Linked DNA regions of Homo sapiens: region 1 is linked to region 2. The links are contacts of gene promoters, found by promoter capture Hi-C in blood cells and fetal thymus (Javierre and others, 2016). All regions are on one chromosome and are shown on one strand. The core of a region is centred on a gene start or on the middle of the fragment in contact, and the rest is flanking DNA. Distances in the headings are between cores, read along the strand shown. Region 1 holds the start of PDE7B-AS1 (PDE7B antisense RNA 1). Region 2 overlaps AHI1-DT (AHI1 divergent transcript).

Region 1 (2,700 bases), core at 126-2,625, 570 kb after region 2:
AGTAAACTGGAAACACACACACACGTGTGTATACATAAGTTTAATTCTGAAGTATTGAGAATTTTATTTTCAAAGTGCTAGAAAGGCAACAGAGAGATAGTTCATTTCACCATTACAGAAACACCAAGAAATTATAAACTTCTCTGGATGTCAGTTTTCTTACTGGAAAAATTATGTTAAAATTATATCACTCTAGCCAAGTGTAGTGGTGCATGCCTGTAGTCCCAGCTACTAGGGAGGCTAAGGTGGGAGGATCGCTTGAGGCCAAAAGTTCGAGGCTTCACTGAGCTATGATCACACCACTGCACTCCAGCCTGGGCAACTGAGCAAGATTCCACTCAATAAATTAATAAATGAGTGCAGCATTCTAATGTTTTAAGGATTAAATGACATGATCATATAACAATGCCTAACAAGGTACACAGTGCAGTAACAAGTAAATGTATTTTAGCTTTTTTCCTTGGTTTCCATTAACATTTTTTTCCTTCAGTTAGTCATTCTAAAAATATTTATTAAGCATCTATTATGTTTTAAGAATTAAATGAGGTGACCCTACAACAGTGCCTTAAAAGGTACACAGCACAAAAACTAAATATATTTTAGCTTCTTCCCTCAGTCCCCTTTAACATTTTTTTCATTCAGTCAGTCATTCTACAAATATTTATTGAGCATTTATTATGTAGCAGGCATCATAATTTGTCTTGAATATATAATGGCAAATACAATAAACACAGTTCCTGCCCTTAATGGGGAAAACAGAAAATAAATAGGCGGGGAGGCGAGGAGAGAGAAAGACAAATCGAAATTGTCCTAAGTTCTGTGAAGGACCTAAACAGGGTACAGGGAGAGGAAATGGTGGGAGAGGGGCACCTGGTTAGATAGCTCATGGCATAGCTGATACTTTAATTTTGTTTTTTAAGTAGAGATGAGTTCTTGCTGTGTTGCCCAGGCTGCTCTTGAACTCCTGGGCTCAAGCGATCCTCCTGCCCTGGCCTACTAAAGTGCTGGGATTCTGGGTGTAAGCCACCTTGCCCAGCCCTGTTTATTTTTCTATTGATCTTAAGAAAGAAAAAGATGTCTTCTAATAACTATTTTACCTTAATCAGTTTTAAGACAAGCTTTGCAGAGCTCCATGACCCTCTGAAGAGACCGTGGCCACCTTGTAGGTTAGAGTATTTCGGACAGATGGCTGTACTACTGAGAGCTTTTCTGGACATGGCCGTTCTGGCTAACTTTCATCTTGTCATTACATTTCCTTTTCTGAGAAAGGTTGCAAGGGTGGTTTTGACAGAGTGATGCTGTTGGTATTTAGAATCCTGACTTTCTTGATCCTTTTCGGTGGAGCTGCGGGACACATGTGCGATGGAAACTGGCCTGGTTGCCATGGTGGATAGTGTTCTGACAACAGTCACATGGGTCAGGTGTCCGTTTTGGATCTTTCAGGCCTGTCAGCAGCTCCTGATAAAGCTAGCCATGTGGTTTTTCTTGGCTCACCTGTATATCCTGGTAGGAACAGCTAAGAGCCACTCAACGCACCCTTCTCTTTTTGGAGAAACCCCAGGGAGTTGTGTTGCTTGGGGCTGGGCCGCTTGGAGACCATGTTCTTTGTCTTTTTGGCCTGCTCTCGGGGCTAAGGAGCATTGATGGAATATCTGAGATGGTGGCGTCGGCAGGGATGGCCATGCTGAAGTCTGTTCATATCACACAACTAGGGCCACAAGCAAAGTCCTCCATCTGAATGACATTCAGGGACAGTCCATAAACTCAACGTGTGCACAGAGTGCCTCCGTACGCCATGCATTGTGACAGGTCCTGGGGTAACAGATCTGAAAGACTCCTTCTTTGTGTGTAAAGAACATGATTGGGTTAATTAAGTAAAAGTGAATATTTTCTTTACTGAGTCATAAAATTACGGGCATATGTCTTAATCAGCTAAGGCTGTCATAACACAGCACCATAAACTCAATGGCTTAAACAACAGAAACTGATTTTCTCACAGTCTTACAGGCTGAAAGTCCAGGATCAAGGCATCTGTGGAGTTGGTTTCTTCTGAGGCCTCTCCCCTCGGCTTGTAGATGTCACTTCTATGGTCTTCCCTCTGGGCCTGTGTCCTAATTTTCTCTTCATACAAGTGCACTAGTCATAATGGATTAGGGCCTACTCCAGTGGCCTCATCTAACTTAACTGCCTTTTAAAAGACCCCATCTCCATATAGGTCACATTCTGAGGTGCTTGGGTTAGGATTTTAACATACGAATTTGGCAGGGGACACACTCTAGCCCATAACAGCATTTTTACAGCCACACATAGTAAAAATCTGGAAATACACCACCACATGTATCAGAGTATAAGTGGCAAAGGTTGATCATGATACGTATCTCTCAGTTGAGAATTTCAGCGTGATTTCTAAAAACTTGTTGTGAAAGTACAATGCGCAGAAAACTGAAATTTCACCAAAAGTCCCATATCTGAAGCAAATAAAAAAATTTAGTTCCCATATTCTTTCCAATAGAAATAATTCCTTCGTGGAGAATTTATGCCTATCTCGTTCCTATGACAAAAAGGAATTTGGCCAGCCTGGCCAACATGGTGAAACCCTGTCTGTACTAAAAATACAAAAAAATGAACTGGGCACGGTGGCACACACCTGTAATCCCAGCTACTTGGGTAAAAGAATTACCTGAGGTAAAAGAATCATTT
Region 2 (2,700 bases), core at 179-2,678:
TTAAATAAACCAACTATAGAAAAACATGTTTTAGGCAATCAGATTTTTTGTTATGGGCTAAATATTTAGAAGATGTTAAGAAATGTTTATTAATTTCATTAGGTAAAATAATGTTGGTGTGGTTATGTAGAGTATGACTTACGTGCACAGAACAGAATGATAAGGTGTCCAGGATTTGCTTTAAAATATTCTAGATTTTTTTAAAAGGTGAGAGGAAATGACACATGTATATCTAAATTTTGATGGTTGTTGAAGCTGGCTGGTAGGTACCTAGTATTTCATTATACTTTTTCCTTTGTGTGTTTGGAAATTTTTATAATAAGCAGGAAAAATAAAAGTAAGAATATATGTATTATAGATAATTTGAAATATGTAGAATCATGAAAAAAAGGAAAAAATACTCAATACCACTACCCAAGAGAATCTAAATTAACTTTTTTGACAAATTTCGTTTCAGTCTGTTTTCCATGCGTATTTTAATTTTGGTCATGTTGTGTGTAAAATGTTTATTTCTGCTTACTTGAATGAACATTATGTTGCAATTTCATTTCCATGCTATTACAATAGTGCCCCCTTAACCATGGTTTTGCTTTCTGAGGTTTCACTCAACAAGCTTGGTTTGAAAATTTTTAGAGAGAAAATAAGAGATTACATTTACATAATAACTATTAATACAGTATATTGTTATAAAAACTTTATATTGTTATTAGTTATTGCTGTTAATCTCTTACTGGGCCTAATTTATAAATTAAACTTTATGAGAGGTGTGAAAGTTGATTATAGAAATTGGGTCATTCTTGTTGTACCCAACTAAATCAGAGTGAAGGGCCCAGGGGAAAAAGCATTTGGGGCATATAGCATCTGCTCCAAGAATTAAATTTTCCACAAGCCCAGCTACTGAAACTGCCTGTTGTAATCTGAAATCAGTTTTATCTGATAGCTAATGAAATAACCTGCTGTGACACTAAGATTAGTTTTACCCACTGCCATCACTCGCCAATCAGAGCTCGCCAGCTCCCCAAATGTTACCCATTGTTTCTTTGCAAAACAATGGGTAACATTTTTCCTTTTTATAAAACCTCCAACCTGATCTTTGTTTTTCAGACATACTGAAGACCACCCATTCTGTGTGTTTGCCTGGAAATGCAATTCTCATTTCCCAAATAAAATGTTTGAAATGTGGAAATTTGACTCTATGTTTTATTTGACTTTGAGAAAGGCATGCAAGTATAGTAAATACAGGCTTTGCTACTACCTGTAGTTTCAGACATCCACTGGGGATCTTGGAACATATCCCATGCAGATAAGAAGGAGATGCTGTATATATCACCACTTAATCATCACTGGAAATTCTAACTTTGTTAGTAATGTTCTTATGTGCACGTGGAAAAATTTCAAACAATCGTTCAGATATTTATAATGTGGTAACCGAAAGTCAGCCGTGTTTTTAATCACTGATCAGTCTTCTATACATTCTTTCATACTTCCATTCATACATATACTAAATATACTAAATTATAAAGATAACTTCTTACCATAGATTTTGTCCTGTCATCTTGTTTTTGTCCTTTATCAAGTATTATTATTTCTAAAAGGCTTTTTATGTCAGTAACATATATCTACCCCATTCATTTTAATGGCTTTATGCTATATCACTTCTAATCCAAAGTGTTTTTAAGCAATTATAGTGAAAGTGTCAAAAGGTGATATGGTGGCTTTTAAAAAATAAGATACTTTTCTTATAAGTCTCTCATATTATTATTTATTCCTCAGCATTTTATAGATTTTTGGTGCTATTTTGAATGCATCCAATTCTTATTACATTTTCTAACCGGTGATTGCACATTTTCCTGCTTTTCCTCTTTCTAGGGCTCCTTTACTAGTTCATGCCTATCACCTTGACCTCTTGATATTGGAATGTCCCAGAGGTATGTTCCTGGACTTCTCTATCTACACGTACTCACTCAGTGATTTCTTACAGTTCTATAGTCCCACTGTCATGTAGACTACTCCCAAATATATCCCTTCTGCCCATTATTCTTCCTTGAACTTCAGACTCATAAATCTAACTGTATATTACATGTCTCCACTTAGATGTCCGACATATTCTCAAACTTAACTTTTCTAACACTGAATTCCTCATCTGCCTCCTCAAATCCCCACTTTCTCCATCTCAAGCAATGACAACTCCATTCTTCCAGTTACTCAAGCCAAACACCAAATACATTGGAGTAACTGTTAAATCAAGCTTAGCCTAAAACTACCTCCTTACATATTTTAAATTCAGCCTAAATGTTTCTTTGTACATCTTAAACTATAACAAGTAGAAGTGTAACCAGATGTAGCCTACACTTGGGCCAATCACCAAGTTTTGGCCAATCAAATGTCGTCAACTATTCAAACCATGTTTAAATAAGGCAAACACAAAGCTGTAACCAATCCAGCTGGTTCTGTACCTCACTTCCATTTTCTGTGCCTCACTCCTTTTTCTGTCCATAAATCTTCCAGCACATGGCTGCGCTGGAGTCTCCGAGCCTACTCTGTCTGGGAAGGCTGTCTGATTTGCAAATCATTCACTGCTCAATTAAATTCCTTTAAATTTAATTCAGTTAAAGTTTTTCTTTTATCATAACCTTTGACCTTTCTCCTTTTCTTATACCCCATATCCAACCTATCAGATTACTATAGGTTCGAACCCAA

Evidence for each region. Contacts are between HindIII fragments. The CHiCAGO score rates a contact against its expected background, and 5 or more counts as called.
Region 1: a contact is called between the fragment with the promoter of PDE7B-AS1 here and a fragment that was not itself captured in region 2, in 3 of 17 cell types (endothelial precursors, fetal thymus and M1 macrophages). The highest score is 10.5, in endothelial precursors.

Annotation. Positions count from the first base shown.
Region 1 is chr6:136,071,452-136,074,151 of GRCh38, forward strand. PDE7B-AS1 (PDE7B antisense RNA 1) reads right to left here and starts at 1,376. Exons shown (of 4, transcript NR_149042.1): 1 at 1,098-1,376. The region is part of intron 2 of PDE7B (phosphodiesterase 7B); the gene reads left to right. The HindIII fragment of the contact is 8,353 bases long and covers 1,117-2,700 here.
Region 2 is chr6:135,502,947-135,505,646 of GRCh38, forward strand. The region is part of intron 2 of AHI1-DT (AHI1 divergent transcript); the gene reads left to right. Among named protein-coding and RNA genes, the nearest start is that of AHI1-DT, 6.5 kb to the left of the region's middle. The HindIII fragment of the contact is 1,635 bases long and covers 612-2,246 here.